4 separate regions of the Homo sapiens genome follow, and regions 2, 3 and 4 are each linked to region 1. Evidence: promoter capture Hi-C in 16 types of primary human blood cells and fetal thymus (Javierre and others, 2016). All regions are on one chromosome and are shown on one strand. The core of a region is centred on a gene start or on the middle of the fragment in contact, and the rest is flanking DNA. Distances in the headings are between cores, read along the strand shown. Region 1 holds the start of CDC20B (cell division cycle 20B). Region 2 has its middle 79 kb from the start of ESM1. Region 3 has its middle 110 kb from the start of ESM1. Region 4 has its middle 95 kb from the start of ESM1.

Region 1 (6,334 bases), core at 2,030-4,529:
GGTCAGGAGATCGAGACCATCCCAGCTAACACGGTGAAACCCCGTCTCTACTAAAAATACAAAAAAATTAGCCGGGCATGGTAGCAGGCGCCTGTAGTCCCAGCTACTCCAGAGGCTGAGGCAGGAGAATGGCGTGAACCCGGGAGGCGGAGCTTGCAGTGAGCCGAGATCGCGCCACTGTACTCCAGCCTGGGCGACAAAGCGAGACTCCGTCTCAAAAAAAAAAAAGAAAGAAACTAATAATGCAGAAAGAATCCTAAAGACTTCACTGAAAATCTGGGGACACATTGTAGGTCCATTCCACATTGTTATTACATTCTAAACCTTATAGTTAAAAACATGTAATTTCATAAATACTTAAACACTGTCTACTCCGAAAGACTCCAAAGACTCCAAAAATATTTCTTAAAAATTTTTAGTTATGGAAAAGCAGGCATAAGTAAATTTTTCTTAAAAGGAAAAAATTTAAGTAATTGTAATACTTTCCTTACCATTATAAAACTGTGCATTGTAAGTATTACTGTATTATAAGCTAATGGCAATAATATATTATGGTAAATAGTGGCTTGCTTCATAGCAGAAAGTACACATAAACACACACTAATTACAGATTCAGTTACACTCTGATGTTCATTGTATATGCAATAAGACAGCAGTTGCATGTTAGCCGATGCCATTCACATATTCAACCAGCTAACAATACACTGCCAGCTCATCACACACAGGTATCCAGAGCACTTCATTGACAAGAAGAATTTATCCAGAAGCAAGTGGCAGGGTAGTTGTGGCTGCTGACTTGACCCAAGCAGCCAGCTAACAATACACTGCCTACCTGATTCAGGTCACTGCCGATTCTCGTGGCCCAGGCAGTCACTGAGGCTAAATTTGTAACATGAAACATAGTGGCAGAACTCTAATCTTAATAGTCACATTAAAGAAAACTTATACACAAAATGTATTACTTCAAGACTATAAGAAATAAAATCAATATTTGCTTGAATCTAGTCAAAAACATAAAAGTTAAACAAAAACTTTAAAACTTTCAGAATACTTACATTTAGGTTTTCCAAATTAAATGCTTGGATAAAAATATGTTCTACAGTACAAATGAATTTTAAAAGTTACTTAACTGTAGGCTGGGCGCAGTGGCTTATGCCTGTAATGCCAGCACTTTGGGAGGCCAAGGTTGGCTGATCCCCTAAGGTCACAAGTTCAAGACCAGCCTGGCCAACATGGTGAAACCCCGTCTCTATTAAAAATACAAAAATTAGCCCAGCGTGGTGGTGCTGCCTGTAATCCCAGCTACTCAGGAGGCTGAGACATGAGAATCACTTGAACCCGGGAGCTGGAGTTTGCAGTGAGCCGAGATTGCACCACTGCACTCCAACCTGGGCAACAAAGTGAGACTCTGTCTCAAAAAAATAAATAAAAAGTTACTTAACTATAGCTTTTCAAATCACTTCTGTTTACTGATCCAAAGACTACTTGTCTGTATTAGACAGTAAAATATCTAGGAGTCGTGATAATACATAAGCTGTGCACGACACAAAACTGCAGCAGTGTTTGGGGGAAAAAATCAACATTAAAGTATTTAAGAAATGTAAGGGCTTAAATGCAATTAGTTTTCTCCTACTAGAAATGACATTAGTAATCGAGTTCTGAAAATGCAATTATGTATTCAATATAGGATGTTACCACTTGAATACTGAATTTTTTTTTTTAAGAGGCAGGGTCTGGCTCTGTCCTCCAGGCTGGAGTGCAGTTGTGCAATCATAGCTCACTGCAGCCTTGAACGCCTGGGCTCAAGCAATCCTCCTGCCTCAGGCTCCCAAGTAGCTGGGACTACAGGCACATGTCATCATGCCCAGCTAATTTTTGCAGTTTTTTTATAAAGACAAGGTCTCCCTGTGTTGTCCAGGCTGGTCTTGAAGTCTTGGCCTCAAGTGATCCTCCTGCCTCAGCATCCCAAAGTGCCGGGATTACAGGCATGAGCCACAGTGCCTAGTTGCAAAATTTATATAAGATCTAGAAAAATCTATTAAAATGGTGGTGGATTTGGAACTAGAATCTCTGCGTACAGGTCAAAGGAAGATGAACTATTGAGCCTAGAGAGAAGCATGGTAAATGGTGACAGAGATTTAAAGCAGATGAAGGCTCTTTATGAAACACGTTTATAAAACCATTTAAATTTGTTTCCTTTTACACTGATTACAGGAGACACTAAAGACCTTTGGGTTTGGTCTTTCAAGGAGAACAGGTACTACATTGGATCAACTTTAAATTGCTCACGTTAAGAACCATGGTTTATGCCACTTCTCCACATTGTCCACAAGATGGCACCATTTCCATTTCTTTGGGGGGCGTGCTTCTGAATGCAACAGAGAGGAGTGCAACTAGCAACTGTTAAAATCATTAACAGCCGCTAGCAATACACTGCCTACCTGACACATCCCAGCTTTATCCTTTGCTGTGGAGGCAGAAACTAGAAAGTACGATTCAGATGCAAACGATTGCATTATTTGTCTGGGATCTTCAGTTTCATAAAGAAATTTTTTTTAGTATGTAATAAGATACTAAAATTCTCATATTTTCAGACCAGCTCAAACTTCCTACAAATACATTATTTACCAAGAATTCGTTTGTTCAAGATCAGAATTAAAACAGAGAACAAGAACAAGCCCTGGACTCACGTTGGCGGAATCTTGACTTCTCTTCTGCTTCAAGTCTTTGGAGAGCACACGCATGATACTTTCCTTTGAAAACACAGATAACATATTGAGGGAGAAACTATTTAGGAAAATCATAATTTCAGGTGTGGAATTTTTCTAGATCTTGTGCTTGTCAGATTACACTTTTTTTTTTTTTTTTTTTTTTTTTTGGCAACTAGGCACCTTCAGAATATAACTAAATTACATCACTCAAATTTACGACCAGGGCTTAGAGTTTCGTACCACCTCTTGGTCCTAAACAGATATTATGAACGGGGCCTTCGGCCCCGCATTAGAGAGTTAGGGAGAATGCAGAAAAGGGTGTTACTCACCCACAGCATCTCCTCTTCCGTGCGGACCCTCCGAGGCGCGGTGCGCTCCAGTTTCCACTCCATCTCCGGCTGACTTCGCCCTGCCTGGCGTTTGGCCTCTCTGCTCGACTGCCTCTGGTTTTCTTCCCAGGTCTAAGTCAGTCTTGACGCCTAATCGTCAAACCCCTGGAGTCCCGTCCCCCAGGACCATTCTATTTCACCACCTCCCTCCAGGTCCCCCACTCCTCCCACCGCCGCTGCAAGGTGTTCCCCAGGGTACCATTTAAAAAGCCGGCGGGGCGGCAGTCGGCGCGGGAATCCCCCTCGCCGGCTTCTTATTGGCCGGCGCCGCGGTGTCGTCAGAGCCCGGGTGGGATTCCCCGGCGCGCGCCGCGGCCCCGCCCCTGCCGGCCCTCTCTGGGCCCCGCCCCGCCACCGCCTCCGGCCGAGGCGCGCACCCGGGCGCCAAGCTTTGCCGCGAGCCGTGGCGGGCCTGCGGCTGGGCCTGGCGCCGGGGGCTGCCACCGCGGCAGGAGGCGGAGGGGTTGGCGGGCGAAGAAGCGGGTTCTGGGAGTTCACGATCTTTCCATTTTCAGAAACAAGAATGTTTCCTTATAACGGCCCTGATCCCTGTTCCTCTGCACCCACTTCTCTTTCTCCAACCACACCCTGCCTTTGCAGGATCCGAGCGTGCACAGCTCTCCGGCCTCTGTCCGTTGGTAATCGCTGTGTCAGCTATAGATGTGAGGCGTGTTCGTCAGCTCTTCGTTTTCAGAAGGCAAGAAAACGTGGCAAGATTTCTATGCCGATCAAAAGGGAGAGCGTTGACATATTTATGCAATAAATTATTCCCTGCTCTATACATTGGGAGTAGTCAGGTCCTCTCACTCGGGCTTCTGAGCCCTGTTCCTTAGCAGGGGGTAGGTGAGAGAGGTGAAGAGGTAGTGAAAGAACCAGTGACAGGCAGGACCTCATAAGGCGTGAAGAGGGGGCCAGAAAGCTGAGCACACTGGGGACTCCGTGATAAAGGGGGAGAGGAAGATATTGAGGGTTGAGGAAGAGGTCTGGCGGGAAATGACAGGGAACCAGATGGGCTGTGCAGCCTTAGCTGCCCATCTGAGCTGCCAAGAGAGCCGAGTTGTGCCATATGGCAGGAGGGGACACTGCATCTGGGAAGCCTCTGACAGCCTGGCAGCCTGTTTGTCCCTCCCTTGCTAACCCCCCAACCATTTTTGACATTGGATTGTATTTTGCTCTAAGGCAATGTGAGTTTGTGTGTTTTTCTGGGGAAACAGTTCATAGATAGCAGATACTCAAAAGGGTCAGTGATCCAAAAAAAAAAAAAAAAAAAAACCTAAAACTCACTCCCCTGCTTTCCTTCATACTGAAAGCAAGAAAAAATGGCATTAGAACTAAGACCCAATCTTAGACCAGTTTTCTATGTACAATAATAATGCTGCATAGGGTAACTTAATCTTCAAATGACATATATCAAAATGTTTGATAGTCAAATAACTAGTGGATTAAAAGATCTCTAAGTTTCACCCACAAGAAGTCTATTTTCCTTGCAGTGGAGTACTCATTCCAAATTCCAGTAAATCTTTCAGCAAACATTAAGACTAAATAAAAGTAAACTATTATTGGATGAGAGTCAGATGCATTGTTAATTTAAATGATCAGTTTTGCAAATGCCAACTAAAACTCAAAGTATATTGGAAATAATATGAAGGACATATTATCTTTGTTCTATTTTTAAATATAGTTTACATTTAACCATTTTGTATAAACACAGAATAAAAGCAATTCAACTAATAAGCTCATAAATCCATGTAAATTGGGATTTTTAGAATCCAATTTCTTACAAGTACTAAGAATAGTGAATCATTCATTTAGAATGCAATTATCTGTAAAAATACATTTATAAATTCCATTATAGCCATTAATTCCACAGCATACATATACACAGCCTCCAAATGTCTTTTTTTCCCCTAGTGTGAAGTAGAGAAAGTATTAGTCAAATATCTTTAGGAAGTAATTATGCAGTTGAATATTCAGATTAAAACTTAACTTCAGAATGATGGAAACAGAAACTCGCCACTTGGCAAATATTACAGTAATAACTGTCAAGAATACTAAAATTACCTTGCATATGATGAGAATACTTCCCCCTATAATTAAACACAAAAAATAAAATCACAACTTTTCACTGGCCAAAACTGGCAGAGACCACCTTAACCAAGTGATCAAAGTTAACATCACCATTAGTGAGACATGTTGACATACTGTGCCTCATGAGAAGGACACATCACTTCTGTGATATTTTTGCCCCACAAAATGCATAACCTTAATAGTGAGAAAATACTAGACAAACCCAAATTAAAAGACTTTCCACAAAATTGGCCAGTACTTTTCAAAAGTATCATAGTCATCAATAAAGAAAGAGTAAGAAACTGTCACAGATTAAAAGAAACAAGACATGCCAACCAAATGCATTGCGAGGTCCTGGATTGAATCCTGGACCACAAAAAAGAAGATATTGGTTAGATAACTGTAGAAATTTGAATTGATCCATATCTGCAGATTAGTTAATAGAGTAGTAGTAATGCTGATTTCCTAGTTATGATTATTGTACTATAGCTATATAAAATGTTAAGATTTGTGAACGCTGAGTGAAGGATATAATGGAATTATTTGTACCATTTTTGTAACTTTTTTCTAAGCCTGAAATTATTTCAAAATGAAAAATATTTAACATCATGTGGTCATTCTATTAAAAAGCACTTTGGTAAGACTGTTTGGGGAAAACAGAAACATCCTGTAAACATATTATCTTAATTTTTATCAAATATGGTTTAGGAACAATGTCCAATTCAAATATTTATGCGCCTAAGAGTAGCTTTACTATCTTTCAAATGTTTCCTCTTTGAGAATGGGTTTTGCAGGGAGGATGTGACAATGAGAAAGGCTGTGAGGAAGACTCCTGGACAAAGGCCAATAAGAAGGATTTTGAGGAAAGAAAGGCGACAGGAGCGAGGGGAGGTGGACTAGTGGAGGAAGGGAGAGAAAGAATTTGGAAAAGCTTCCCTTAACTCTCAAAGTCGCCGGTGCTCTGAGAATCTCAGTAGGTCCCTATCAATGGGAAGCAAGAGGATATTCAAGCTTCCCAAATGCGATCTCTTTTTTTTTTCAATTACACTTTCATTCTAAACATCAAGAATGTTAAATATCTCAAAAATATGCCATATACATGGGCTCGCTTCAGCGGCATATGCACTGAATGTGCAATATACCAAGTACACTCCCTTCAATCCGCTC
Region 2 (6,093 bases), core at 3,054-5,553, 270 kb before region 1:
AGGGGCAGCTGCTTCCTGGTAATGCAATAAAACCCAAGGGCCCAAAAGAAAGGCTTAGAATACTCCTCTCCCCTGCCCTCAACTCCCAAGTGCCTTTCCACCAAACTGCTGTGTGGGAAAGTCACCTCTCCAGCCTTGTCACTCCCGTACACCTTATACTCTTCTCAACTTTCATTACACCCTGCGGGGTGACCTGGTGATTTGAGTGCCTGTATCTTTATTAGTCATAAAATTATGTCTAATATTCTAGATGGCCCCATGGCACCTTGCATAGTTTAGGTTCTTCACAAATATTTGTTTCCATTTTACCTATAGCTCATTCATTCATTCATTTATTCAATGATTTTTGGACTCAGGGTAGAATATTCAAAGGTATATTCAAGGGGGGAGGATTTCAAGGTGGATTCATTTTTTAGCATTAAGTTCTGCTTAATGGTGGTTTTGTTTCAAGTATCCAGATGCAGCATTAGAGGTTAGAGACTAAAGACAAGGATAACTTTATGGGAAGTTGGTCAAGCTCAAAGCTATCATACCTCTTTCCAAACATGTCTCTTGGATAGATAAGAAAAATACTAATGGTAATGACAGCAACAAAAACAGGACGATTAGCATTTCAGGAGTGTTTACTTTTTTCAGGCACTGCTGTAAGTGCTTTACTCGCTCCACACAGTTGCTTTATGAGGGAAACACTATTAATGTCCTCCATTTTACAGATAACATGGTGCCTGGCATCCTGCTGCTAGAGATTAGTATTTAGCAAGTTTAGACAATACCCTCTGTCAGGCCATTCCCTCCTTTTAAATGTGCACATCCCTCAGCATGATGATCCCCTGCAGTAGTCCAGGTGACAAACACGCCTTAGTGTAAAGCAGTTTACAAAATGCCTCACTTCCTGGTAATCTGCACTCTTGGAGGATTTGGAGGAGGAGCTCTGAAAAGAGGGGATGGAATGGCTGCAGAGAGAGAAGGTGGGATGGACACCTATATCATATTGGATAGACTTGATCAAAGCCACCTAGGCTGGGAATCCTGTAGCTGGGGTTTAACTGGAAAATGAATAGAGACTTGGCCAAAGCAATTTTTGTTTCTTTCTAATGCTGTGTCCATTGACTCCAGGCCAAACAAGAATCTTTTGGGAAAGGGCGTTTGAGCCATAGAACAATGGACTGACTGATGTCAATCAAGGTCAGTTTTGCCTTCCAGGGACATTTGGCACTATCTGGAGATATTTTTCATAGTCATCACTGGGTGGTCAGGTGTTACTGGCATCTAGTGGTTAGGGGTCAGATAGGCTGCTAAACATCCTACAGTGCACAGGACAGCCCCCTTATCATGAAGATTATCTGGGCCAAAATATCAATAGTACTGAAGTTGAGAAACTCTGCAACACATTAAAAAGGTGCATCTGTACCATTGGAATTTGAGTCTGGGCTTCTGAGCAGTGATGACTGCAGAGGGGCACCCTCCAGTGGCCAGTATGAATCATGAGCCTAAATCCCAAAGAGTGACTCCAGTTCTCTATCCTTTCCCTGGTTATTTGCTCAGCCTTCCATGGAAGAGCTAGCAGGGATGTCCTGTCCTTTCTGTCCCCTCCTCCCAGGCACACACATTTATGAAAGTATGGCGCACGAGCCTTCACCCTTCATGATGAAACTCCTCCAATCTTCCAGTGGATTTTCACTTTATGCAATTAATCTTATGTGAACAAAAAATAAAAAATAAAAAAAAAGGAGAAGGTACACAGTTCCCTTCCCTGAAGAGGGAACATGAGAATCAGGGAACTCTTTATCTTTCACACCGACTAAACACACCTGAATTTGTGTTTTCTCTTTGTTGACTCTTTTGGCTTCTTTTCATCTGCATTCAATGTGGTCACCTGTAAGGCCATAGCCAGCAAAGTGGTATCTTCATTGCTCTCCCGGGAATGTTAATGAGCTTAGCAACAACAAAATCCTTCTGATTTACTAAACCAGTGCACCTCCTGACTTGTGCATAAACCTCCATGACATTGCATTGAAATTGATGCTCCATTATCAAAGCAATGATAATTTGAAAGGTTTCTTTCTCATTTCTGTAGTTTTTAAGCTCTTAGATAATTGCTTTGACTCTTCTGTGGGATCTGTATAAAATGCCAAAGTTAGTGAGAAGGTGTAAGCGTGAGAGTCACTCCAGGTCCCTCCCGTGACTGACATTGTCAGAAGCAATTTGCCCTCCCAGACTTCAGATGGTGTCTGCATGTACCAAGCCAGGTGTGTGCTGACTTTTAATCAGGCCACTCAGCCTAGTTGACTGAGGGAGATGCAGATCCTCCCAGCCTCTCAGGGAGGATTCTTTGACCAAGTGACTAATAAAACACCCATGCAACAGATGTTGGACTACCCACAGCCTGTGGCTCTCCTACCTCTCACATAGGCCACCTCACTCCTACTGAACTGGGGAATGTGAGGAGGTCTCATGAATGGTTTGCCAGCCTGTGGGAAGCTCTGAATCCATCCACTAGAACACTTCAAAGATTTTGTGTTCAAAGTCACCCTGGAAAAACAATCACCAAAGTGGTTCATTCATCCCACCAGTAACTTGATCACTGATGCTTCAGAGGAAACCAAAGAATTCAGCACTATTTACTACCTTGTGAAGTATAAATCACTGCGCCTTCTTAAAACTGTATGTGTAGGAAAACGAAGGCCAGAACATGCTTAGTTTCAAAGCATTTTTTTACCTAGTTTCTCAAGCCCCCTCCCTTGTTCAAACATCAACTCAGCAGGAATGACTGATTCTAAGAGTGCACCCACCCTTCCCATGAGAACGTTCTGAGAAATCATCCACCGGCCGTGCCATGTAGCATCACCGCATGCCTCTAAGTTTCCTTCTCATGGCAGCAGGAGGCAAGAAACATCTTGAACCTTCAGGGATTGAAGACTAATAAGGAGGAATTTGCATTGTCATCTTTAAAAATAATAAACCTAACTGATTGCTTTAATGTTTCAAAAAAAAATTTATCCTGCTTCTAAGAAACAAAACTTCTGAAAAGACTGCCATGAGATTGAAAATCTTGCAATGGAATGTGCCGCTTGAGGGCGCCATTAGGCTTTGAGAAAATAACTGTCTGCTACTTTAAGTGCTGTCTTTGGAGCCAGCCCTGTGTCCAGCAAGCTCTATGAAATAAAACTGAATTTAGATCTCACTTCTAGGAAAATGAAGGGAAACAGGAATCTAGTCTCTTTAAACTCAAGTGACATTAACCAAAATTCGGTTGACAAGTTCTAAATTCCCTTGTACAAAGCTGTCTTTACCAGCCAAATGAAATAAAAAGTGATACTGTGCTAAAAGATGCCCTGTGTATTTTTGTAGGATTGACAGTTGCTTAAGATCAACATTCCAATGTGAAATGAGAAAAATAGTGGGAATAAATTGCATAACAGAAATCTCCTGATTTAAAACTGGAAACCTAAGCTGTTTGGGTTCCATGGGGAAAACTGCTTTACTTGGGTGTTTGACACTCCCAGAGAAGGAAAAGCTGATATGTAACTCGGCTTTTTTATCAGGCTTTGTTTGTCCAACACAGGTCCTACTTTCAACAAAGCGTAGTAGAAAATGACACAGAGGGTTGAAATTCCCAAGTATTGCAGAAGGAGGTTTGTGGAAGATCACAAATCAATTTGTAATTCAATAGAGTATTTAACAAAGCTAAACCTTCAGTACAGAATTTGCTGAATGAGACAGTCAATGAGAAAATAGACTACAACAGAGAGTTGAAGATAACAGACTACCAGGAGCGTCCAATCTTTTGGCTTCCCTGGGCCACATTGGAAGAAGAAGGGTTGTCTTGGGCCACACATAAAATACACTAACACTAACAATACCTGACAAGCTAAAAAAATAATAATAAGAGAAAGAAAGTCTCATAATGTTTAAGAAAGTTTACAAGTTTGTACTGGGCCAATTTCAAAGCTGTCCTGGGCTGCATGTGGGCGGGTTGGACAAGCTTAGACTACAGCATCATTGATCCAAATTGGAATTTCTTCTCTCTGCCTTCCACCTATCTCAATCTATCCAATCTTCAGTACACAGTGTGAGTTTCACGGTTCCCATAGAAACTCCTTTTATTCTTCCAAATATATTGTTCTAATTGTTTTATATGACTCTAGTCTCTCCCATTCAACTTAAAAGACACTTAAAAGCAGGAGACAAATATTATATCTTTCTTATCTTCTATTGCCCAGTCCATGGACCTATCAGGTATATAATAAATACTTTCAGATTTACTAATTAATCTAAAAAGATATAAGAAGAGAAAAAAAATTTTTTTTCCTACCATTTGCTTATCTTTAAGAGAAGATTAGATGATTTCTATTAGTAAAAATGCTTAAGGATGTCAAAAACTCAAAAAGAGATGTGGGTTAAAATTTACTAACATACATGCATCACATTCCTTGTATCAAGGCATTTTTTATGGTAAATTACCATGCAGACAATACAATAATGTAAGACCTGTGTTTTAGGCAAATGAACCTAGTGGCACTGTGAAAGGTAGATCAGAAGGGGGAGACAGTGACATCTAATATTAGTTACTGTTCGTCAAATGCCAAGTCTGTGCAAGCCACTTTATATTTATAGTCGTTAAGCTTCGGAAAACTTGCTTGGAGAAAAGTAAGCAACCCACTCAAAGGCCTGAAGGGAATGAATGACAGAACTGAGAGTCAAGCCCTGATGTAAGTGAATCCAGAGATGTGGTCCTTGCACTACAGTGAGTTCTGTCTTCCGGGAAAATGGCTGCAGGTCTGTTAAGCTGCAGACCAAGGAAGCACTCAGCCAGAGCTGGGATGCAATAGCAACCTGACAGGGCTCGGGCCCTCTTCCAGGTCAGCATTTGCGGGTGGTGTGAGCACCAGCCCCTTCTGTGGTGTGATCAGGGAAATGGGGGCCATGCCTTGAGGTGGCTGCTTGGTGACCAGCTTGGTGCTTGCCTCTCTCACTATGGTCTCATCTCATTATTAGCTAACTGCCTAGGGGACTGGGGTTGTATTTGACTCCTTGCACTTCCAGCAGTGCCTTGCATATAACAGCTACTCGGGATTTGTGGAATTGAGTCTTGAGGAGCGAGATAAGGGAAGTCTAACTACAGTTATGGCAGTAGAATTAGAAAGGAATTAGAAAAGATTAGATTCAAATGGCGACGAGGAAATAATCTTTAGAAATGTATCAACTATTCTATATGGAGAGTAAGGAAGACTCATAGGATTCTAAAGAGCTATATCCAGAAAAAAATAAGAAGAGAGCTGGTTAGGGTGGGTGTAGTGTTAGAGGGTGCTAGTTTGGGGCATGATAAAGTTGGAGCTCTGCGAAGCCATTCAGGTGGAGTGGTCCAGTAGTGGTTTAACACCATCAGGCTGGCCCTTGGGAGAGTGATCAACTGGAAATATTGATTTGGGAAGTTGTCCTACCCATCCTGTTTGCTGTGCCTTAAAAATAATCCAGAATCTGACTATTAACCCTGCTACCCTGGTCCAAGCCACCACTGTGTATTGTCCTGATTATGGTAGATGCCTCTTAACTGGTTTGGCTGTTTCTGTTTTTGCAACACCACCCTCTCCTCCAAGTCTATTCTCAACACAGCAGGTAACATGATCTTTTTAAACATAATTCAGATCTCTCTTCAGCTAAAACCCTGCCATCCACCGTCCCCACCCAAACCCCCCACCAAACACACACTCAGAGAAAAAGTCCTGATGAAGACTTGAACAGCCCATCCAGTGGGCACTGGCACAACCTCTGTAACACACTCCTAATTTTCAGAACTCTTCTTCCACCACTGTCTCTTCTCGGGCTCTCTTGGCTCCAGCAGCATCAGCCTCCTGGCTGCACTGCAAACCCTCCAGCCTCACCCCACCCATTGTGAGGTGTAACCTACAAGCCCTCACTGTAACCTCTGCCTGGAAAGCTTCCCTCCCCTAATCTTCATGGTTCATGCTCTTCCCTACTCTAGGGCTTTGCTTAAATGTCATTTTCTCCTTGAAGGCTTCTCTAATCCTCTCTTTAAAATGTCAGTGACCCCACCCCTCACTGGCTCTTTTTCCCCTGCTTTCCTTTCCT
Region 3 (6,361 bases), core at 1,671-4,170, 300 kb before region 1:
ACTGCTCCCCCCTGGTCCTTTGGTGAAGGCCACAAAAAAGAACTCATCAGACTCAGTCTCAGAGTCATCATGAACATAGATCACCTGTTCACTCACTCTCTCTTGATTTGTGAACATAGTGATATTGTCATTACTTTCCAGAGAATCAGACAAGTTAAGCAGTTTCAGCTTCCCATGTTGAGGGCCCTTGGAGATTTTATATTGGAAGATCTGATTGTCCAAAATTTGAACAAATAGTTCTGATTTTGTAATTAATTTTCCTTCTCCTTCTTTTACAAATAATCCTCTGTTAGTTAAAATAAAGTATGTCTTATCTGCTTTAAAGTTGATTCTGAAAGTATAATCTTTTGAGTCTATGTATTTTGCAACAACCAAAAACCTAAAAGTATCCTGTGAGTCTTCCCTTGGCCTCTCCTGAGGTTCATAACTTATCTTAGAGTCTGTAATATTTTTTTGGCTGAAAATTGAGTTTGTTTTTAGAACTTTATTGCCAAGTACCAATTTTCCTTTCTTAGATGGGATCAATAACTTAAAATGTAGTTCCCTCTCAGCTACTTCCACACCCTCTGTTGCAGCCTGCAAATGATCAGAATTCAATATGTTCTTGTTTAGTTGACTCATCTCTAGAGGAACATTTTTCAGGATAAACTTCAGCCATTGTGTTGTAACTGGAAATATCAGCTCTTCACTGACTTTTCCTTCTATGTTAACTTTACATTTAAAATGATCTGTAACATTTTCTAGCTGCAATTCTTTCAATGTACTATAGTACTGGACCCGACTCCAATCAACAGAACACTGAGAAAAGGTACTAACTTGTTTCCATTTCCCACTTGACCCTCACCGCTGAATCTGGCCATACTGAGGTGGATGAGTGATGTCAGAGCGGGTCTCCATCTCATGCCATTCACCATTAACCTCCACTGACAAGTTACTCCATGTAATCAGAGGAGTGCCACCCTGTTCTACAACCACACCAGTTCTAACGGCCACTGCAAAGTCCCAAGAAACAGCCATGTTCCACACCACTGCTGTATTACTAACCAGCTCTCCATCACTTGCTCTCAGAACAATCTGAGAGTTTCGATGACCCCTGTGCACATAGAAAATGTTGCCATCTCTTAAATCTTCATGTGTAAAATGATTAATGGCATTCCCGGGATCACTTGCATTTTCTAAAACCCCAGCATCTGAATTGAAGTTGCCAAGAACTGAAATACAAAGACTCAAAGAATCTGTGTCAGGGTCTGACATGTCTATCATACTTGGGGTCAGTTGTTTCTTAGAGTTCTCAAATAGAAGAAGCAAGTTTCCTTCTGGTACCTTAAGGTATGGGGGATCATTGACTGGAATGACAATAATGTTAAACACATGTGGAACACGTTCTTGCAGATATAATGGCATTTCTTTCTTGCTATTGGGAGAAACCAAAAATGTAAAATAATCCATAGGTTCTTCTGAACCATCATGGACATATCAAACTTTTCCTTGCCATAAGTCTAACATGGTAAAAGCTGTCTCCATTACTTGCTCAGGTGGTACATTTAATTGAAGGAACCCATGAATAGGCCTTCCCTCTATTTTAAATAGTATTTGAGAATGATGGATACCCAAATCCTTAAATTTCACATCCAGTTTCATGTGCCTTTGTTTCAGTAAGGTCCACCTTCTTGGACCTGCAAGTTATTCAAAACCAAGAAATCGCTACTCTCATCTTGAAGAAAAGGCTTGATGACCTCAGGGACGGCAGTGGAAAGGAAAACTTCTGACTGATGCAGATTTTCTATCGCTGTTATGGAAGGATTTGTGTTATCAACACTCTCAGTTTTACAACAACAGGAATATCTTTGAAAACAAGGGCATCCCTTAACGCTCTCTTTTCTGAATTGGCTTCCAAGCTTCTTAAGCACCCTTTGAAAGAGGTTCCTCGAGCAAATTTCCCAGGCACAGAGGCAAGTTCTAACCTCTTTACTTCTTCCCACATTTGGTTATCAAGACCTCCCACAAAAAGGGCTCCTTCAGATACAAATGTTTGCTTTGCAAAGGCAGTGACTTCCTTACCTTTTTTTCATCTACTGTTAGGTCCAGATACTCCCCTGTGAATTTGAATTGAATAACATGCCACTTGTTGTCACTGACAAAACTAAAAGAAGAAAGCTGAGTTTTACTTTTATGCCTTCCTACATAAGCCTTCAATAGACTTTCATCTATTTACAAAGCAACAAAATCTCCTTCCTTACCCAACTGAAATGAAAGCAAGGCTTGCTGAGTTACAGTTTGCAAAGTAAATTCCAATAGTGTTTACCCTTGCACTTTCCATTCTGGAAAACTGACAGAGAATCTGGAGCTAAAGAAATTGATGGCTTCATCCTCCCCTGCAAAAAAAACTCGTCATTGCATCCTAGTGACACCTCATAAACCTTCTTAAAACCAGGGTAAGATCTAAGGGACGTAAGGATCTCCCTCTGGTTAAATACCACATCCTTCATACATCCTCAAAAATTGGGGAGCTTTCCGTACAGATAAGGTACATTGAGTGCCCTGCGGCCTCCTACATAGATTCCATGTTGAAAATTCAAATTATGCATCCCACCAGCTGCCATTTGGCCAGTTGTCTCATAACGTTTGTCAATAACAAAGGAAATATTATGCTTAACATAGCACAGTTCCACCAAATGCCAAACCAGGTCATCCATATGAAGTCTCTGCTCAGAAAGGAGCATTTGTTCACTTGTACCCAAATTTACTCTCACCTGAAAAAGAATCATAATTAATCAATCTCATCTCACTTTTCATTTCATAATGTTTTATTGAGAAAATCGGACCTTTCACAAAAGAAAAAGAAGAGAGAAATTTGCACATGAAAACTCTTCCCATGCTTATAGATTACATACTAAACTCAGGAAATTTTAAAGTTGGAATATTTAAGCCATGCTAGTAAAACCGAAGGAGATCCCAACCTATACAAATGGCACATCATTTTATTCTAATGAAATAACAGCAATCAATACATGTAGCTGTTTTGTTCTCTTTCTCTCTCAACTGCTTTTCTCTCCAGTAATTATATGCTTATATGTATTTTCAAGATTTAAAATCATACACATAAGGTTCCTGATTTAAGTTCTATTATACAATAGTCATTTGTCCCAGCTGCAAGCAAAAGTAATCCCTGTGGTTTGCTGGTATGAAATTTTAATTGAAGAGATAGCTCAGAGGAAACTTCTATGATGTTGAACTCCACATAGCTTTCACCATAAAAAGATGCTAAGAGGAAAATAACAAAAGAAATATATTAGTAAATTTATTATGCAATGACTATTCCACCTTATATTATCATCTCTTTTCAGGGACTGATCCTGGTGAAGAAAGTTGCCTTTCCCAAGGCCTTATCTGCTTCCTGGGGTGACCCAGAGATATGACATGGGTGTATAAAAGGCTCAGTGTTCTCTCACCCCAACTCTGGAAAGCTCTGAACGGTCATTCCCTCTTCACAACTCTCAAGAGAGGTAGCTGAGGTTTCAACTGAGATGAAATTACAATTCAACTCCTCCATCTACCCCAGAATGCTTCTTTCCCCTCCATAGGAGTTGATCCTATGAGCTCTCTCTAATAAACCTCCTGCATGCTAAGTTCCATTTCAGATTCTGCCTCCCCAGAAGCCCAACCTGTGACAATTGGTACTGGAAGTGGTCTGAAAAAGCAGATGATAAGATGAGATTTGCAGCTGGACCAACCACTACTCAAATGGTAATTAGGACACTGTCACTGGTGGTAGGTGAACCACAGAGAGCCCTGGCAATGACTGCAAACTTCACTGGTGGTGAGCTGGCTTGGTGTAAGAGCATAAAGGAATACGTTAGGCCTGGCTATGAAATGCTGAGCTCTTAAAAACAGGGCAAATAAAAAGTAACTATGAAGACAATGGAATTGGGTGCCTATTGCCAAGCTTGAATGAAGCTTTGGAAAAGATAAGGAAAAGCTGGGAAAGATTAGTTGACAATTACAAACTAAGTGTGAAAGCCAGAAGGCCTTCCTGTTAGCAAAGTCCTTCTCATCTTCTATAGCAGGAGGGCAAAAGAAGCTGAGACTCAGACCCAGGAGGTCATCATCAGAGTAGTCAAGCTCCAAGTAAAGTTTTGGGGAATCTAGCCTGCAATATCTGCCTCCCCTCTTTGCTCCTCTGTGCATTTCTTTATCCTAGAACCTGCCAAGTTGTGTTAACATTTCTTATTTATGCATCTATCTCCTGCATTATTCTGTAAGTTTTCTAAGATCGGGGACCATACCTTTTGTATCTCATCTCTTCAGTACCTAGCACAGTGCCTGGCACACGGGTGGTGTCATAGTTTCTGTTGGTGTCCCATTTTGATCCCTTTTAACAGGCTGGTGCCCCCATCCTTCAGTTGCTGAACTGCCTTATCCAAAAGCTCCAGTGATATCACACCCCCTACCCTGGAGAGCAATCCACAGACAAAGATTGATTGGAACTGATCTATAAAATATGTAGAACTCTGTGTTGCCATTCATATTCCAGATTCCCCTCTGGGATCAGGCTGAGGTTACATCAGTTGAAACCACATCTTCGCTTGGCATCTTCTCCTGCCCTATCCTGCTTCCCTCACTTCCTTACGTTCTCTACTGGGAAAAATCACTCAGTGATTCATTTGCACTACAATCCCTCACTCAGGCTTTCTCACTAGGGAACCTGACCTAAAACAGGCAGGCAGTAAGCAAGCATTTATTGAACCAAACTAAACTGACCTAGTAGACCCCTTATTCTATAATTGAGTAAACTCAAACTTAGAAAAGCTTAGGGACTTGCATAAAGTCAACAGTTGGTTAGAAACAGAGCTAGGACACAAACCAAGCTTTCCCCACTACTAATCCAGTTTTTTATGAAGATAGGAAGTTAATACAGAAATGAAGATGATCCCTACAGACTCTCCTAAATATGCATAAGCACCCTTTTCTCTCTTTAAAATATGCATCAATAATTAAACTTAATAGAACTAGAATGTAGAGCTCAGGTCATTAAAGTTGACAGATGGCAATTACATACCCACTGACCAGCTGAGTTTATCCTCCAGGCCTTCCCATTACTGAATGCCCCCACCTCAATTTCTGACAGACTCAGAGGCTGTATTGTTAAGTTTTCAAAACCAGGAAATGTTTTCTAAATCATAAAAGCTACCGCTGAGAATGACTAAGTAACATTAATAAACAATATCCCTATATTTTCCCACGTTTCACCTCTCTGGCACTAAATCAATTCTAGTCCCAGCTGGTGGCCAGAAATTTCCATTGCCTCTGGGGAAAAGCAAGGAACTAGGTTAAAACCTGGTTTGACAGCCTAAAGCCAGTTCATGTCCTCACATACCCCTAAGTAGATCCTATCTTTTGCAGCCCCTAGTAAGTGTCTCAAAATAATAATAAAGAGCAAATAGAAACACGAGTGAAATTGGCTCCTGGAAAAAGAAACGTGATCCCTACATTCAGCGAAGAAAAAGTGTGATTTCAGTATTAGTGAAACAAAGTTGAGCAATAATCAGATAACCTCCTGGTTTTGCATGCTTACAGAAATGAGGAAATGGTTGAGTGGCAGCCAGAGTCTTCCGTTGGTAAAATATATAAAACATTTAGACTGCTCTGCAATTTCTCCCAGGAAGGTGATTATTTTATTCATTATATCCTCCTTAGAATTGGTTCCCATTCCTTCTTCCAAATTACATCTCTCCGGTTTTTTGTTTTATTTTGGTTCTATGCTTTTGTTGTTTGGCTTACTATTTATAGAGTGCCTACTATGTGCCAGGTATTGTCAGGAGTTGAAGATGCAGAATCAATGAAACAAAGAGGCCTGCAGCCTACCAAAGAAGAAAGCCACTTGGAAAGAAGAGTGTGCACCCAAGTGATATTAGAAAGTTGGTCCATCAGAAGCACCTCCAGGGCCACCTGAGGTATAAGGGAAGGAGCAATCCAACTATAAAGTGTCTCTCCCTATCCCTAATCTCTAAAGTGAGATTAATGACTTCACTTGGAAAGGGGCAGATTTAAGTGGCCGTCCTATGCATGGGTTATTCTGTCCACAAGTGATACCAAGCATCTTATTTAGTACTGAGGATTCAATGGTGAACATGAGAGACTGCTAATCAAGTTATTACAGTTGCTTGATTATTAATTGAAAAACACACAACAGAAGCACGGGGCCTAATCAAGGGAGGCGGAGTCAGAGGGTTTCAGGCAATGGCTTCTGGAAAGACCTGAGCAATGGAGCAGACAGGAAGACAGGAAAGAAGGGAGAGAGTGTTGCAGGAAGTCAAGGACCCCAAACGGAGGGACCGACTGAAGCCATGACAGAAGAACG
Region 4 (6,406 bases), core at 847-3,346, 280 kb before region 1:
ATCTCCAGCATCCTCCAGCTGTCCACAGCAGTGTGGATTTTCTAGGGGCTGAAGAACACAGGACCAGATGGGTAGGATTTATAGCTCTGGTCCTAGATGTGGGACAAGGCACGTATCCTGCACCAGCCTCAGCTTCCTCCCTTATGAAATGAGAGGGATGGACTAAATGATCCATAAATTCCCTTCAGGCTCAACATTTTATGATTCTAACTGGTTATCATTAGCATCAGATGGCTCCCTCATTTAAATAGAGCTCTTTAAATGGGCACACAAGGAAACTTGTAAAGTTTGGATTTCTTTACACAAACCAAGGTAGTGATTGCCAATAACTTGAAGCTTTTAATTTAGAAACATCTTTCAAAATGTCAAAAAGAGATAACTATGAATTTGCTCCCCGTAGGGCACCACTTGCTCCTCTTGTTTGAATTAGTTCTAAATTACCACTTAAATGCTTCAAAGATTGAATGTGATCTCCATCCAATTTCCATGGCAGCTAAGATGGATCTAGAATACCGGGAAGTTAAGATGCTCAGTTAGGGAAAACCCATGTATGTGGTGACTCTAAGGATGTTTCTTTGTAGTGTCTGGTCAGGAAATCCACCCAAATAAGGGCCACACTCTAACCTAGTCATTTTGACTGGCACTCTCCTGCTATACCCCAGCAACAGGAATTATCCTATTCAGATATTGGCCTGAACATGGTTCACTCAGAAATGAAGGTATAGAGAGCATAAAACAAATATAGGGATGTGCCATTCATTGATTCAACAAATATTCACTGAACTCTTTCAAATGCAAAAGGCACATGAAAGATGCCCTGGTGCATGCAGAGATCAGTTACAGACTCTGCTTTCTAGGAAGCTGCAACATAGAGAGAGACATAAGACATGTACAGCAGTAATTTTAATAAAAGTGAATTGGAAGTTGGGTCATGCCTCTGGGCCCAAAAGTCTCCTTTCTGGAACTGTCCAGCCCATACACCATTGTTGATGTGACCAGCTTGAGCAGCTGTGTCAGATTTGCATGGCCCCTCACCCTCTGACCCCACACAGTTGGACCAGGTGAATTCCTCATCTAAAGGGCATGACCCTGGGAAACAAGAATGTCAAAGCTGATTCCTTCTCAAAACTTTCAACCAAGAAGCATAAAGAATGCAATGATCTGGTGGCAGTCACAGAACCAGTAAGTCATGTGCAGGTGGTACCTTCATAAAAATCCAGCAGAGATCCAAATTCCATTCAAGCTATGGAGGAACAGGGACTACAAGTCAGCAGAAGGAGCCACTTGCCTCTGTCTTGGTCTTTGCAGAGAGGAGATTGGTACCATGTTCCAGAGAAAAGCTGATCGTAAGGGACAATCAAGCCACAGAAAATCGTTGCCTGGTGGCTTTCCCATTCTTATGAAGTCCAGATGTACTTCCTGAATTTTATGTCCATGAGATTCTTCTGAGTTCTTTCAGTAAATCCATACTTTCCTAGAGCTAGTCTATAACTCTAGCTTCACAGATTCCGGTGTGCACAAATTATGACTTTCAGTATTTTTCTAAAATCAACTTGATTTCTGTTTTGACCTTCCAATCTGTTGCAGATGCAAAACTACAACTCAGCCAGTTGAAGGATTCTTTCCTGCATCCCCTGCCCCAAGTTGTTTTGCAGTTTCCTGGAACTTATGTAGTGCTAAGACATCAAGATGACTGAAGAAGGGGTGTGGCAGTTGTCTGTTACAAGACACTCTCACCGTTGTGCAGGCCCCCCTGAGACATTCTTCACCCCACGTGGTCTTCAGGTGTCAGTCCATGCAGGCTCCATGGAGACCGCCTCCTTCCCAGCTGAATGGTCCCATCAGGTCAGCAACCTTTTCCATTTCTCTCAAGCTACTCTGAACGCTCTTGGGCCACCCCTAGTGCAGGAGCTCTGTGAGGCTGGGTAAGGCCTTGACTACTAATACTCACCACACAGACATTTTCTGTCTGGAAATCTTACTGTCTTTTGGGGTCCATTCATCTAGCTGTGGGATTGGGCTCCTTCCATGGGGCTCTGACTTTCTGTAAGGCCCACCAATGTCATCGCACTGACCATTTTGCCTTGACTGTTCTGTCCTCTAACCCAGGAAATCCTTTTCCTCTTGGCTTGCTGGGTAGTGAGAAGGAGGAAACACTGCATAAACCAAGATGGAGTTTTAGCCACTCAGCAGAATAAAGTGTAAAATCATAAGTTTGATTACTAAAACATAAATGTATCATTTGCACAGAATTGAGATGTAGACAAGAAGACTTGTATTTGCCATGTTAAGATGCCTACCCAGGAATGCTAAGAATTCTTATGGAACCTACCCTACTCCCAGACTGGTTAACAAATAGTTGAATTTGAGCCAATTTCTTTGAGGCAATGGCTGTGACCTCAGTGAGCACTGATGTGTGAAAATGAGTTAGACGCTCAGAAGTCACTGCTGGTTTCAGAAAAAAAAGTCTTTGAAAGAGTACCTCAGGATGCTTTCTGTCTCCCAGGAAGTCAACAGAAGGAAGGAAGAATGGGCAAATGAAAACTTCTGAGTTTTCTGCAGAGATTAAATTATCTAATTTCTGGGAAGCTGCCTCAGGAAAGACAGGGATCTCTTGAGGACCTCTGTCAAGGATTCTAATTTTTCAAAAACCACAACCTTTTTCCAAGGAGAGTGGAGCAATTCTAGGTGAACTGGCTGCCTCCAGCAACCGAGAAGTCGCTTGTTACTCTGCAGAACCCACACAGCCCCTTAATGTGACATTAACTCAGTGACCTAGAGCACGTGCAGAAAAGGTCTATATCCTGGCTAGAAGGAAAACTCTGCCTAGCCCCAAGGGGAATATTTCAAGGTAGCTGGTCTGAGTAGAAAAGGGGAAATGTTCTCCAAGTAGAAAAGTGCAAATGGATTCTGCTCTTCCTTGATTTATGGGAAGATAAACACTTTATGGGAGATTCTACCCACAAAGAGACCCAGAACTAATAACTTGGAAACTGAGGTATATTTGGTACCAGGAAGGGCAGCTTGGGAAACCAGAAGAGAACTAGATTGGGGCCAGGCTGACTCTGCAGGAGCCTAACTCATTCAGCTCCCTTGTCCCCCTCTGAGCCCAGAGAGACCCCAAGGCCCAAGTTAAAATAGTACCACCAGAAGGAGGAGAATTATGCATCTAAAAAGCAGTTGGGGTAACAGCTCCATTATTTAGGAAGGCAGCTTTTCACGGAGGCTTTATAACCCCTCACTCTGTGAGTGGTCAGAGGTTCAAATCCCAGCTTCACCACTCAGCAAGCCAAGTTACTTAGCCTTTGTGCCTCAGTTTTGCCATCTGAGATATGGACATAGTGTAGTACCTACCTCCATTGGGATTTTGTAAGGTTAAATGAGGTCATTCACAAAATATGCTTGAGACATAATGGTAGGCAGCATTTTGACTGTTAACCACTCCTGTTGCTTTTAAGCAAAATGAGATATCTCTTCCTTGAAGAATACTGTTCAAAGACATGGAAACACCAAGGAGAAAAAGGGTGTGGGGAGATGCAGGGATTTGTTTCATTTATAAAATATTACTCCACCATAGTAGTTTGCTTGCAAGGAACAGAACCCCACTGAAAGAGCCTTAACTGCAAAGGAAAGCCACATATGATAAACAGGAGGAGAGCAGGAGCCTTTTTGGGTATGTGAGTTGGATTTTAAAGAGTGGGTCAATGGAGATGTTGTACAAGGCCTAGAAAGCAGGAGCACATGAGGGCCTGGTGCTTCCAGCCTGTTCTTTCCTCCTTAGGAGACAGCTTCTGTCCGAGGGCTAACAGGAGAAGGAAGAGTAGCATCTCAGGATATCAGGAGTTTGTGCAATTTCTCAAGCTTGCTCAGTTTCTCCCCATCACATACACACGTGTGTTCTTCCTCACTGGCAACACCCTCATCATGTGGATAGTGCTCCACCCCTTCTTGATCTTCCAAGGGTCGTAGGGATTGTGAGGGGCAATTTCCATACAATGAATTAAACTGGGGACCAACTGAGGATTTGATTCAACATCTCGTTGAGGATTGCCAGCAAATGCAAAGTCCTCACTTGACAGCAACAGAATAAATAGCACACTTGGCCCTAGAGCACAGGCACAGGATGGGTTCTTTCTGATGGAGACTGGGCAGTCTGTGGACTGAGGCTCACAAAGAGGCAGGTTCTCCATCCTTGGCCAGACCCAGCCACCTGGCATCTTTGGTAAATTCCTCAGAGTCAACTCAGGGAAAGCTCATAACCCCCATTCGTTTATTCTCTTCTTTTCCCCCCCAACCATGCCTAGTCATTTTTTCTCCCTAGCCCTGGAAAATAATCTCTTTTGACATGGGGAAGAACCTACTCTCTCCCTCTGCTTTTGGCTGTGTTTTTGTTCTTGGCTCATAGAGGGTTGCAGCCCAGGAGAAAGTTGAAAGAGCCCCTGAGCTATTGTAGCTTTTATGTTACAAAAACCTAAACGCTTATGGGTATGAGATTCATAGGCACAAAGATTACTTGTTTGAATTATAAGTGAAAGGGTGCTCACAAAAGGAAAAACTAAACTAATATGTCAAACTATGATTCCAGCCACTTCTGGTTACAGTATAATATTGTGGGTAAGGCTGGTAGGCCTATCTTTCTGCCAATTTTAGAATTCAGAGCCCAGATCAAAGATTTGGCATTTAGAAACATCCTGAACATTTGCTTTCAGCTTATCCAGGGGCTGGTTCATGAAGCCTAAAGTCACCAGAAGGGTGGTGTATAGTCAGAGAGAGAGAGAAGAAGTACTAGGACAGTGCTGGGTCTCTGAAGTTAAAAGAGTAGAGAGCTTCAAGGACTGACTGTGGTCCCAGAGATAAACCTGGGAAGAGCCCATTGGGTGGTCTCTGATAACACCTTGAAAACTATTTCTGATAATGGGTATCCCAACAGAAAAAGAGGAAGTCAAACTACCCCTGTTTATAGATGACGTGATTCTATATCTAGAACACCCCATAGCCATGGCCCAAAAGCTCCTTCAGCTGATAAACAACTTCAGCAAAGTTTCAGAACACAAAATCAACATACAAAAATCATTCCAGCATTCCTATACACCAACAATAGCCACGCCAAGAGCCAAACTAGGAACGCAATCCCATTCACAATCACCACAAAAAGAATCAAATACCTAGGGATACAGCTAACCAGGGAGGTGAAAGATCTCTACAATGAGAAGTACAAAACACTGCTCAAATAAATCAGAGATGACACAAACAAACAGACAAATATTCCATGGTCATGGATAGGAAAAATCAATATCATTAAAATGGCCATACTGCCCAAAGCAGTTTATAGATTCAATGTTATTCCTATCAAACTACCAACAACATTCTTCACAAAACTAGAAAACACTATTTTAAATTTCATATAGAACCAAAAAAGAGCCTGAATAGCCAAGGCAATTCTAAGCAAAAAGAACAAAGATAGAGCCATCATGCTACCCAACTTCAAACTATGCCTCAGGGCTACAGTAACCAAAACAGCATGGTACTGGCACAAAAACGGACACATAGACCAATGGAACAGAATACAAAGCCCAGAAATAAGGCCGCACACCTACAACCATCTGATCTTCAACAAAGCTGACAAAAACAAGCAATGGAGAACAGACTCCCTATTCAATAAATGGTTCTGGGATAACTGGCTAGCCATATGCAGAAGATTGAAGCTAGGCCCCTTCCTTATACCATATACAAAAATCAACTCAAGATGAATTAAAGACTTAAATGTGAAGCCCAAAACTATGAAAACCCTGGAAGACAACCTAGGCAATACCATCTTGGACCTAGGAATGGCCAAAGATTTTATGACAAAGACACCAAAATGAATCACAACAAAAGCAAAAATTGACAAATAGGATCTAATTAAACTAAAGAGCTTCTGCACAGCAAAAGAAACTATCAACAGAGTAAACAGACAACCTAGAGAATGAGAGAGAAGTGTTTGCAAACTATGCATCTGACAAAGTTCTAATATCCAGCATCTATAAGGAACTTAAACAAATTTACAAGAAAAAAAACAAGCAACCCATTAAAAAGTGGGCAAGACGTGAACAAACACTTTTCAAAAGAAGACATACATGTGGCCAATGAGCATAATAAAAAAAACTCAATATCCCTAATGATTAAAGAAATGCAAATCAAAACCACGAGATACCATCTCATACCAGACAGAATGGCTACTATTAAAAAGTAAAATAATAATAATAATAATAACAGATGCTGGCAAGGTTGAGGAGAAAAGGCAATGCTTTTACACTACTGGTGAAAATACAAATTAGTTCAACCATTGTGGAAAGCAGTGTGGTGATTCCTCAAAGAGCTAAAAACAGAACTATCATTCAACCCAGCAATCCTATAAAACTAGGTA

What was found. The method cuts DNA at HindIII sites, captures the fragments that hold promoters and counts their contacts. A CHiCAGO score of 5 or more calls a contact.
Region 2: a fragment that was not itself captured here is called in contact with the fragment with the promoter of CDC20B in region 1 in 13 of 17 cell types (total CD8 T cells, naive CD4 T cells, total CD4 T cells and 10 more); the score reaches 22.6 in total CD8 T cells.
Region 3: a fragment that was not itself captured here is called in contact with the fragment with the promoter of CDC20B in region 1 in 2 of 17 cell types (total CD8 T cells and naive CD4 T cells); the score reaches 5.8 in total CD8 T cells.
Region 4: a fragment that was not itself captured here is called in contact with the fragment with the promoter of CDC20B in region 1 in 3 of 17 cell types (total CD8 T cells, naive CD4 T cells and activated CD4 T cells); the score reaches 5.9 in total CD8 T cells.

Annotation. Positions count from the first base shown.
Region 1 is chr5:55,169,898-55,176,231 of GRCh38, forward strand. CDC20B (cell division cycle 20B) reads right to left here and starts at 3,280. Exons shown (of 12, transcript NM_001170402.1): 1 at 3,041-3,280; 2 at 2,691-2,753. The coding sequence starts at 3,103. MIR449C (microRNA 449c) reads right to left here and starts at 2,456; the gene lies at 2,365-2,456. It overlaps MIR449A (microRNA 449a), which reads right to left and starts at 725; the gene lies at 635-725. MIR449B (microRNA 449b) reads right to left here and starts at 845; the gene lies at 749-845. RefSeq lists silencers at 3,004-3,298, 3,386-3,715. The HindIII fragment of the contact is 4,347 bases long and covers 1-3,487 here.
Region 2 is chr5:54,903,070-54,909,162 of GRCh38, forward strand. No RefSeq gene overlaps it. Among named protein-coding and RNA genes, the nearest start is that of ESM1, 79 kb to the right of the region's middle. The HindIII fragment of the contact is 640 bases long and covers 3,984-4,623 here.
Region 3 is chr5:54,869,279-54,875,639 of GRCh38, forward strand. It overlaps the pseudogene CSPG4BP. Among named protein-coding and RNA genes, the nearest start is that of ESM1, 110 kb to the right of the region's middle. The HindIII fragment of the contact is 2,048 bases long and covers 1,897-3,944 here.
Region 4 is chr5:54,887,680-54,894,085 of GRCh38, forward strand. No RefSeq gene overlaps it. Among named protein-coding and RNA genes, the nearest start is that of ESM1, 95 kb to the right of the region's middle. The HindIII fragment of the contact is 3,525 bases long and covers 335-3,859 here.